3 separate regions of the Homo sapiens genome follow, and regions 1 and 2 are each linked to region 3. The links are contacts of gene promoters, found by promoter capture Hi-C in human tissues and cell types (Jung and others, 2019). All regions are on one chromosome and are shown on one strand. The core of a region is centred on a gene start or on the middle of the fragment in contact, and the rest is flanking DNA. Distances in the headings are between cores, read along the strand shown. Region 1 overlaps SLC9A1 (solute carrier family 9 member A1). Region 2 overlaps AHDC1 (AT-hook DNA binding motif containing 1). Region 3 holds the start of MAP3K6 (mitogen-activated protein kinase kinase kinase 6).

The links. Contacts are between HindIII fragments. The study calls those that stand out against the background at their distance.
Region 1: a fragment that was not itself captured here is called in contact with the fragment with the promoter of MAP3K6 in region 3 in 6 of the 25 tissues and cell types used here (H1 embryonic stem cells, dorsolateral prefrontal cortex, heart right ventricle and 3 more).
Region 2: a fragment that was not itself captured here is called in contact with the fragment with the promoter of MAP3K6 in region 3 in 2 of the 25 tissues and cell types used here (mesenchymal stem cells and pancreas).

The regions. Positions count from the first base shown.
Region 1 is chr1:27,126,131-27,129,638 of GRCh38, reverse strand. All of the region lies in intron 1 of SLC9A1 (solute carrier family 9 member A1), which reads left to right. Among named protein-coding and RNA genes, the nearest start is that of SLC9A1, 27 kb to the left of the region's middle. The HindIII fragment of the contact is 6,234 bases long and covers 1-3,508 here.
Region 2 is chr1:27,580,932-27,584,926 of GRCh38, reverse strand. All of the region lies in intron 3 of AHDC1 (AT-hook DNA binding motif containing 1), which reads left to right. Among named protein-coding and RNA genes, the nearest start is that of AHDC1, 21 kb to the left of the region's middle. RefSeq lists an enhancer at 2,953-3,482. The HindIII fragment of the contact is 4,137 bases long and covers 1-3,453 here.
Region 3 is chr1:27,365,358-27,368,807 of GRCh38, reverse strand. It overlaps MAP3K6 (mitogen-activated protein kinase kinase kinase 6), which reads left to right and starts at 1,847. Exons shown (of 29, transcript NM_004672.5): 1 at 1,847-2,550. The coding sequence starts at 2,211. RefSeq lists enhancers at 981-1,922, 1,923-2,866 and silencers at 2,119-2,228, 2,259-2,478, 2,549-2,598, 3,189-3,258. The HindIII fragment of the contact is 34,431 bases long and covers 1-3,450 here.

The sequences.
Region 1 (3,508 bases), core at 277-2,776, 240 kb after region 3:
TTTGCATCTGTAAAATAGAGGGGTTGCACTGGATGGTCTCAGAGGGCCCTCCCTCTTCTAATCTCTGACTTCTTGCTGCCCCTCTTCTCCCACAGGAGAGAGCTGACCTCCCATTGCTGTTTCTAGAGCCCTGGGCCTTCCTGGCACCAGGACCAAGCCCTGCAGCTGGCCGTGTCCTCATCTTTTCTCTGCAGTGTCCTCTAAAGGGCAGCCTCCTCTGAGCATGCTCAGTTCTCCTATCCACTCTACATCTCGTGGCTCCTAGAGGCCTGAAGTGACAAACTATCCCCAGTGTGGTGGGAGAGGAGGCAGGGAGAGGCCCTCCAAGCATGCCCTGTCTCTCCCACCACACAGAGCCCAGCCAGCTGGATCGTTATCAGAAGTGTATGGGAGACCCTTAGGGGACCCCCTTGAGATAGAGGATCCAGTATCAGGAAAGCTCACCCATCTTGCTGGTATTGTGCAGGAGGCAGTGCCTGCTGCCCATGGAGCCTTAATGCTGTGCAGTTGGACAGCTTCCCCCTCAGGTGCCTGTTTAGGAGAAGCTCTTGCCTCCCTAGTGCTGCCAGCTTGCCTCTGGGACCCTGCCGCTGCTGGTTTCTGGGAATCTAGATCTGCACGGGAGTGTCTGGCATGCGTGCGTGCGTGCATGCATTTGTTTGTTTGTTTGTTTGTTTGTTTATGGAGTTTCCCTCTTTTTGCCCAGGCTGGAGTGCAATGGCGTGAGGATCTCGGCTCACTGCAACCTCCACCTCCTGGGTTCAAGTGATTCTCCTGCCTCAGCCTCCCAAGTAGCTGGGATTACAGGCATGCACCACTACGCCCGGCTAATTTTGTATTTTTAATAGAGATGGGGTTTCACCATGTTGGCCAGGCTGGTCTCAAACTCCTGACCTCAGGTGATCCGCCCGCCTTGGCGTCTCAAAGTGCTGGGATTATAGGCATGAGCCACCACGCCTGGCCTTTTTTTTTTTTTTTTTTAAAGACAGGGTCTCACCCTGTTGCCCAGGATAGAGTGCAGTTGGCATGATCTCGGCTCACTGAAACCTCAACCTCCCGGGCTCAGGTGATCCTCCCACCTCAGCCTCCCTAGTAGCTGGGACTACAGGTATGCACCAGCCATGCCCAACTAATTTTTAAATTTTTTGTAGAGATGGGTTTTGCCACGTTACCCAGGCTGCTCTCAAACTCCTGGGCTCAAGTGATCCTCTCGCCTCGGCCTCCCCCGCTGCTGGGATTCAGGTGTGAGCCACCTCCCCTGGCCTGGGCATATATTTTTGTTTTTGCTTTTTTCTGAGTGTTTCTGTCTCTGTTCTCTCCTCTTACAGCAACGCTGTGCCATAGACATTCTTTATCCCAATGTTAGAAAGGAAGAAACTGAGGTTCAGGGCAGTACCGTGATTTGCCTTATTAGGTCACAGAGAAGTTAAGATTTAGAATTGGGACAGAAACTACCTCCCTCATTGATGGACCAGAGCTCTTTACGCTGCCCGCTGCTGCCTCGTGCAAGCTTGCTATGGCACGAATGCTATTCTGTACCCAGATGCCACAGTTGCTGGCATGGACAGAGATGGTGAGTATCACAGAGCCCGACTTTGTCCAGCTGCAGAGTTCATCAGTCAGATGTCAGAGGTAGAGAGGCTCTCAACAAGCCCCCAAGGATGGAGAGACTGAGACCAAAGAGAAGCAACGGCTTGTTCAAAGCCCACAGAATGTTAGTGGCTGAGTCTAGACTGAAGCCCAGTTCCCCTGATCCCCAGCCTGGGCTTGACTCAGGCCTTTCTTTTCTCAGAATTGTAGTTTTCTGGTCTTTTGAGGCATTTGGAGGTAGGATGGAGGGGGTGCTCACCCATCCTGCTGGTATTGTGCAGGAGGCAGTGCCAGCTGTCCCTGGAGCTGAGACTAAATGGCTGTGCATTTGGACAACTTTGCCCTATGCCAGGTGCTGAGCCTGGGTGGCCAGCGCTGTCTCCCTTGACCACCTCCCTGAAGTGGCAGAATTTCATGTTGTTCCCCAGGCCAGAGCCCTCCAGTGGCTCTGCCTGGCTCAGCAGGGTGATTGGGAATTCTCTCCCTGCAGGGTATTTGTGGCCTTTCATAACTGGCCTTGGCTGAGCGCTGGATTGGGAGTCAGTAGTTCTGGGTTTGGGACCTGCCTCCGCTGCTACCCATGTGATCTTGGGCCTGTGTCTGGACCTCTCTCAATGTCTGTTCTCTCATCTGTTGCCCACTGCCAGGGCATGTTGTGAGGGCGAGAGAAAAGTCTGCTTTACAGCATCTAAGTAATGATTTCCACTCCAGTCCACTGCCATTTGCTCCAATAGAAAGCCTCTACCTGGGCTGGGCTCAGTGGCTCACGCCTGTAATCTCAGCACTTTGGGAGGCAAAGCAGGCAGATCTCTTGAGCTCAGGAGTTTGAGACCAGCCTGGGCAACATGGCAAAACCCCTATCTCTACAAAAAATACAAAAACTAGCTAGGCATGGTGGCACGCGCCTGTAGTCCCAGTTACATGGGGGGCTGAGGTGAGAGAATCACTTGAGCCCAGGAAGTCAAGGCTGCAGTGAGCCATGTTCGTACCACTGCACTCCAGCCTGGGCAACACAGCCAGACTCTGTTTTCCCTGCCCCCTCCCCCCGCAAAAAATAAATCTTCTACCTGTACCACACTCGTTTCCCTGTCCTGTCTTTCCAGATGCTGCTGATTTGCCTGCCAGGCCTTCTTGGTGCCTAACTCTCACCCTTCCTTCAAGGAAAAGGCCAATTCAGCTGGAGCTTAGTGTCCATGTGCTTAGTGCCAAACACTGGAGATTAAGTTAAACCCAAAAATATATACACAAAAGGGAAGGAAAAAAAGTTAAACCAGACATGACTTCTGCCCTCAAACAGTTCTGCTAGCTCAACAAGTCTTTATCCTTACTATGTGTCAGGCTCCGTGCTGAGGCCTAGAGAGTCAAAGATGAATAGGACAGGGTCCCTAGCCTTGCTTGCAGGTAGAAACTTGCTTGTGGTCTGGAGGGGGAGACAGACCAACCAGCTGTGCCGTGTCATCAGACTCTTAATAGAGGGCTGTGTGGTCCCAGGCTCTGCAGGCCACAGAACTGAGCGTGACTGGGTTCTGCTCCCTGGGGTATTTAGGAAAAACTGCTGAGCAGCACCTTGGAAGAGTGGCTCTCCAAGGGACAAGCTGATGGTGACCCCCCCGACAACATCTTGTGGTTCGCCCAGTGCTTTTGTGTTTGTGGTCTCATGTAATCCTCACAACCTTGTGAGGTCACTGAGGTAAGAGAAAGTCATCCATCCAGCAAACATTGATTGTGAACCTCCTGTGTGCCAGGTACAGCCTAAGGTGCCAGGGATACAACAGTGATTGGGACAGAGGCTGCCCTCACGAGGCTTATGTTCTGGGTGGGGAACGGTCAGAAAGCACATCTAGACGTCAGGAAGTGGCAAGGGTAAGCGGATAGAGAGGGTTGGGAGGACCTCTCTGGGGAGGTGGCATCTGAGCAG
Region 2 (3,995 bases), core at 136-2,635, 220 kb before region 3:
TGCTGAGATTACAGGTGTGAGCCACCACGCCTGTCCTGTCCTGCCCCCTTGATGCCCTAAGTAGGAGATGGGAGCCCTGAATTCCTGGGGGATAAGGCATCTCTGGGGAGCCTCTAGTCTAGGCCGAAGGGGAGACCTAGCCCTGCCCTTCCCAACACTAAGTTTGATGGGGTGATAAGGCAGAGTGCTGTGGGGGAAACAGGCAGAGTGTCAGGCTGTGCCTCGCTAGGAGTGTGCAGATCAGTGGTTCAGAAGCCTCTATAGAGCACAGCTCACCCCGCTACAGTGCTGGCCACCAATGGGAGAGGTGGAAGGGTTGGCCTCAGAGAGCTTGCTGCCCAACTAACTGGAAAAACAAGGCTGATAGGTGTGGTCAATTCTCAACAGTGGGATAAAACAATAAGAGAAAAACATTGCAAAAAAATCATGTCATTTAAAGAATTTGGGCTTTGAATCCTGTGTGTCCTTAGTTACTTGACTCCTCTCTGAGCCTCAGTTTCCTCACCTGTTGAGGGGAAATAATAATGGCATTGATGCTATAGGGTTTTGTGAGGCTCAAATGAGATAAAACATGAAGGTTTAGCTTTGGAGCAGGGGCTCAGTGAGCATCCATCTAGATGCTAAGATCCAATACCTGGAGAAAGAAAGGGTCCCTCCCTGGGGTTGGCATCAGAGCAGATAAGGATGGGAATGGTGAGGATGGAATGGGCAGTGAGCGTCCCGACTTTGGAGTCAGACGGCTTGGGTTTAAATCCCAGCCCCTGGGAGCTGCTTTCCCTCTCTGGGCCTTGATTTCCTTGTCTGTAAAATGAGTATAATACTAGTTCTCCTCTCCTCCATAGGGTGTTGTGAGGATTAAATTAGCTAATTAATTTATTCAACAACTAATATGAAGCACCTGCTGGGTGCCAGACATGTTTCCAGTCACTGCAGATCATAAGGGGTCATGTTAGCAATCTTATTGTTACCACCATAATCTGGAAAGAGGGGACAACTGCTTGGGAAGGAGGCAGAGAGGAGGCTGAAGCCTTCAGAATGGAGATAAGTGAAATGATAAGATGCTATAGAAATAATAAAGAGCTGATACTTAGTGGTTACTATGTGCCAGGCACATTTGCTCATGAAGCAGGGGCTCATATTATCCTTATTTCACAGATAGGAATCGGGTTCAAAGAGGTACAGTGACATGCCCAAGGAAACACAGCTAATAGGGAGAGGGTGGAGCTGCAGTGTGAGAGACTCAAAAGCCACACTATTAGTCACAAAGCTTTAAACCTGATTAAGAGACGGGTTAGGGGTGAGGGCATTGATCCAGCAGAGGAAGGAGGGAGAGACCTGGCCAGGAGAGGGACAGGGGGAATAGAAAGGAAGGACAGAGGTGGGCAAGGCCTTCAACTTCAGGAAACAATTAGAGAATGAACCAAATCAACATACACTCCCCGAGTGGGTTTTCTCAGCAATAAACAACAAGACATGAGCTCAGGGAAGGGAACAAGTGAAGTCTGGAGGGAGGGCTTCCCAGAAGAGGTGAATCTTGAGAAATGGGTAGTTGAAAGAGATGGGGGAGCCAGAGCATGCCAGGCAGGGTGCCGGGCACCAGCAAAGGCCCTGAGGTGAGAATGAACGCGGCTTAGGGCTCAGAAGTGGGAGGAAATTGCTGAGTGAGATCAGGATGAGGATTGGGAGGGCTGGTGGCCTCAAGGACATAGGGAGGGTGACAGATTCGAGAGGCTTAGCTAATGTAGAAATAGAAATAAACGGCCAGGCATGGTGGCTCACGCCTGTAATCCCAGCACTTTGGGAGGTTGAGGTGGGCGGATTACCTGAGGTCAGGAGTTCGAAACCAGCCTGGCCAACATGGTGAAACCCCATGTGGTGGCAGGCACCTGTAATCCCAGCTACTCGTCAGTCACTTGAACCCAGGAGGCGGAGGTTGCAGTGAGCCGAGAGTGCGCTATTGCACTGCAGCCTGGGTGACAGAGGAAGACTCCGTCTCAAAAAAAAGAGAAATAGAAATAAACCCCCATCTGGACAGAAACTACAGTATAGTGATCAAGAAGGCAGGCTCTGCAGTCCAATCCTAGCTAAGTTGTGTCCCACCATGTGAACAGGGCAAGTCAACTGAACATCGCATCTCCAAAACACAGGGTCATCAAAGTACCTGACCCCTCCGATGAGATGCTCTGTGAGGAGTGCTTAGCACAGTGCCTGCCATGCAGTAAGCACTTGACTCATGCATTCATTCCTTAACCATCAAGTGCACACTTGATGTCAGGCACTTTTCTAGGACACACAGCAGTGAACAAAACAGACACAAATCCCTGCCCTCAAGGAGCTTACATTTAGAGGGTAAAACAGACAGTTAATGTAAAAACAAGTGAAATAAATGGTCGTTAGATGGTGATATGTACCAAGGAGGAAAATGAATCAGAGAAGGGGCATTGGGCATGCCCACATTACAGGGTTACTGCAGTTTTAAATCAATGTACAGATGGAGGCTGTTGTTACTCTTATTTGTATAGCAGGTTTTAGTAGAAAAAGCACCTTCCAGTTTACAAGGCAGTTATTCCTTGTGAGAATCAAGTGAGATACAGGTATTGCCATCCCAATTTTATAGATAAGGACAGTGTGGCTTGAAGACAACAATCTGACTGAGTCAAGAGTCATGACTTTGAGGACAGTGCTATACCTGCTAACTCCCTGTGGGATTCGCTGTTCTGTTCCTGAAAGTCTAGAGGATAGATGAAAAGAGATGATGGGAATTGGAGGGGTGTGGGCAGTGCCGAGGTGGGTCAATGTCCAGGGATGGAGCTGCGCTGGAGAGCAGGGGCAGAGGCCTGTTTCCTGGAGCCAAGCCTGGCCAGCTTCTGCTGGTCTGGCGGAATCAGGGTGAGTTCAGAGGTTGGCTGGACCCAGAGGCAATCCCAAGGGCATAGCAGGGGAGGCCTGAGACACTGTGTGATTGAGCAAAGGGGCAGAATCTGTCCAGAACGGAGTGAGTGTGTGGGTGGTGTTGAGACTCAGGGGAGGGGAAGAGAGGAGAGGAAGAAGTCAGCCCCGCTGACCAGATGAGAGAGAACAGCCAGGAGGTTGGTGGGGCCAAAGCTGGCTCTGAAGGCCCCTGAATGTCAGGCTAAAGACCTTGGCCTTGATGTTGTCGTCAGCAGTAGGGAGCTGTTAAAGGTTTCAGGGCAGACACGCAGAGTCATGAGAATGGGATTTGAGGAAGATGTAGCTAGCTCGAGGTGGAAGAGATTCAGAGGAGGTGACTGGAGGTGGGGGAGCCCACCAGGAAGCTGTCATGGCCAAGTAGGTGAGACATGATGAGGTCAGATCAGAGAGACCACTTGGACTGGAGGAAGGAGTAGGGCCTGGGAGAGGATACCCCTGGGTTCTGGCCTTGGATCTGCCCAGATTTTCTGAGGGTCCCTTCTTTATTACACACCTCTATTTTCCCATTTGGATTGAACTAAAGGCGTGCCTGCCTTTTTTTTTTTTTCTCTTGGTTACCATTTTGGCTAAGGACCCATTTTGAGAAGATGATGAGACCTAGGGGCTTTCTCTCCAGAAAAATTTTTTTTAAAAATATATTTTTTTAAAGTTTTGAGCCTGGGCAACATAAAAAATTAAGTAGCCAGGTGTGATGGCACATGCCTATGGTCCCAGCTACTTGGGAGGCTGAGGTGGGAGGATTGCTTGGGCCCAGGAGGTTGAAGCTGCAGTGAGCTATGATCACGCCACTACACTCCACCCTGGGATACAGAGCGAGACCCTGTCTCAAAAACAAAAACAGGCGGGACGTGGTGGCTTACACCTGTAATCCCAGCATTTTGGGAGGCTGAGGTGGACAGATCACCTGAGGTCAGGAGCTCGAGATCAGCCTGGCCAACATGGTGAAACCTCGTCTCTACTAAAAATACAAAAATTAGCTGGGCATGGTGGCATGCACCTGTAATCCTAGCTACTCGGGAGTCTGAGGCAGGAGAATCGCTTGA
Region 3 (3,450 bases), core at 598-3,097:
TTTGAGACGCAGTCTCGCTCTGTCGCCCAGGCTGGAGTGCAGTGGCACCATCCTGGCTCACTGCAAGCTCTGCCTCCCAGGTTCACGCCATTCTCCTGCCTCAGCCTCCCGAGTAGCTGGAACTACAGGCACCCGTTACCACGCCCGGCGAATTTTTTGTATTTTTAGTAGAGACGGGGTTTCATCATGTTAGCCAGGATGGTCTCAATCTCCTGACCTCATGATCTGCCCTCCTCGGCCTCCCAAAGTGCTGGGATTACAGGTGTGAGCCACTGCGCCCGGCCGCTTTTTTTTTTTTTTTTTTTTTGAGATGGAGTCTTGCTCTGTCGCCCTGCCCAGGCTGGAGTGCAATGAGCCAGAGGGGCATACAGTGGAAGGATTAGAGGAGATCCAAGCATCCATTGACAATTTCCCGAGGCCCTCTGGGTCCTGCAAGTGGATGGCTTTGTGGCAGGAATTGCACAATTGCATAGCTTTTTTTTTTTTTGAGATGGAGTCTTGCTCTGTCGCCCCGCCCAGGCTGGAGTGCAATGGCACGATCTCCACTCACCGCAACCTCCATCTCCCAGGTTCAAGTGATTCTCCTGCCTCAGCTCCCAAGTAGCTGGGATCACAGGCAGGTGCCACCACACCCAGCTACTTTTTTTTGTATTTTTAGTAGAGACGGGGTTTCACCATGTTGGCCAGGCTGGTCTCGAACTCCTGACCTCGTGATCCACTCATCTTGGCCTCCCAAAGTGGGATTACAGGCATGAGCCACCGCCCTGGCTGGGAATTGCACAGCTTTCTCAGCCTGTCGGTTGCCCATGCCTGTCCTTTGTAAGTTGTCTGTTTTCCACTCCAGCCTCTGTTGCAGGCCAAGTTCTCAAACTCTACCACTTCCTGCCTATCTCATTGGGTGTCAGTTCGAATCCAAGGTCAAACCAAGGAAGGTACCTTTTTCTTCCACAAGGCAACAGGGCAATGAAACAGCCATTGAGTAGCATTTAAGCAGTTTATTTGCCCAAAGCCACATTCTAGTAAGTGGCAGAATTAAATAGTTAAGAGTCTGACAGGCGGTCCTGGGTTTGCACCCTGCTGTCATGTGCTGAGTGATCCTGGACAAGTTATTCAACTTAAGTCCCCAGTTCTTGGTTTCAGGGTCCACTGAGGCTTCTACCAGGTTGCTGCCTCACTCATTAATTCACACAAGAAAGTTGGGGACTCTTGGGGATTTGAAGCTGAGAAGCTGCTGTAGTGCAAAGGGCTGGGGTTGACTCCTTCAAGGGGTGGCTAAAGAAATGTTTAGAGTTGTTTAGAGTAGGAAGTGCTTCTCAGGTCCCATGGCCACGTTCTGCCTAGAAGTCAAAGGTCAGCGGGGGTCCACAGCAGGTTGGGTCCTGGGGAAAGCAGCCCCCTAGTGACAGTTAAGGCTCAGATGCCAAGTCCCACTCCAGGACTGAAGGCTTTCGGGCAAGCGGCCTAGGGTGTAGGTTTCCCCCATCCCAGTCCCTCCCTGCCTGCGCTCACTGGGCCCGGGAGGACACCCATTGTTCATCATGCTCTGCGCACCCTGATGTCTCTAGAGAGCCATTCATTCAACAGATACCTGCAGAGCAGGGCCTGCATATCGAACCTTTTCCCTAGCCCTGGCCTCCTCACACATTTTATGTGCACTTGCTGTGAGCAGTCCACAGTCTTTGGCGTGCACAGGGGCACAGGCTGTTCCGGAAGCCGCCAGTCTCCAAAGTTCTGGCGGGAGAGAAGGGAGGGGAGAGGCTGAGTCTCAAGCCGCTAGGGAGCGGCTCTGCCCCAGGGCCGAGGGTGGAGCTTTCTGGGTCGGCCGGGAAAGGGCTGGGCTTAGCCTACAAGTGAAGGCAGGGCAGCGTTGGCGGGCGCTCCCTTGAGAAGTCCAGGTGGCGGGCACCTCCGAGCCGATTCCCAGGATCCCCCAAGTGGCTCTGAGCTGCCGATCACCGGATGCCCCAGATTCCTGGGACCCAATCCCGGATTTCAGAACCTCAGGACCTTGCAAGTCCGAGCTAGGATTTCTCCCTGGACTTTAGATTCCTGGAACGGGACGTCAGGCCGTATTCCGGATCCCTAGATCCCGTGGGAGATTCTCCGATTCCGAACGGATTCCAGATCCCAAGATTCCTGATCTGCCGGCCCAGGCTCCTGCCCCGCCCCCGGTTCCCAGTGCGCGGCGCCCCGCGCCTGAGCGCCCCCGCATGGCGGGGCCGTGTCCCCGGTCCGGGGCGGAGCGCGCCGGCAGCTGCTGGCAGGACCCGCTGGCCGTGGCGCTGAGCCGGGGCCGGCAGCTCGCGGCGCCCCCGGGCCGGGGCTGCGCGCGGAGCCGGCCGCTCAGCGTGGTCTACGTGCTGACCCGGGAGCCGCAGCCCGGGCTCGAGCCTCGGGAGGGAACCGAGGCGGAGCCGCTGCCCCTGCGCTGCCTGCGCGAGGCTTGCGCGCAGGTCCCCCGGCCGCGGCCGCCCCCGCAGCTGCGCAGCCTGCCCTTCGGGACGCTGGAGCTAGGCGACACCGCGGCTCTGGATGCCTTCTACAACGCGGGTGAGAGCGCTGGGGGCGGGGCCGGATCCGGGCGGGACTCAGGGTCCTGGGAGGGGACCAAGCCGGGCTCGAAGGCTCAAGGGAGGGGCCGAGAGGGGTACCGGGTCTAGGGGACTTAAAGTGAGCTAAAGCTGAAGGGCTTGGGACAGGGCCGTGAAAAAAGTGGGATTTAGGGGATCTGGGGCGCGGCCGGGCTCGGGACGAGACAGGGATCCGGGCGCGGCTCTAGGGCTCGAGGTTGGGGCTTAGGCACCCTTCAGTCGGAGCGGTGCCCAGCCAGCGGGGCAAGGATGGGGAGGGGCTTTGGAACTCTGGGGCGGGGCGGGGAGCGGCGCGGGGCTGTGGTGTCTCAGGGGTGGGGTTGGAGAACTCAGCCTCACCCTCAGGAGAATGTCACGCGGATCTCTTGAGGACAATTACTGGGAGAGGAGCTTGGACTTAGGGAAAGGGGCCGGGAGGCTGGAGTTCAGGAGTCCTAGCATACTATTTCCAAGGATCGGGCTAGGAGAGGCAAAAAGAGAAGCGAAGGGGCCCGACGGGACTGGATACTGGGTGAGGGAGCTTAGGTTAAGTGGCCTCAGCGGCCCAGAAAGAATGGGCGGGGAAGGGGCGGGGAAGTGGGCGGGAAAGGATGGCTCAGGGGCGGGGCCAGAAGGAGGCTATTCCCCCGCGAGTCACTCCTCCCTCCAGCCAGCCCGGATGCTCGGCCCCCATACTTACTTGCTTATGCTAGAGTCCAGTAGCTGTGCTTCCTGGATGTCCATGAAATCGTAGCCTAAAATGAAGGCTGACCCGACCACTCGGACACAAAGATACAATTATCGACAGACACAAATCGCATACATGTTGACTCATGCAGGCCCTAGCAGACGCTGTCACACACACAGATACAGTCAGACA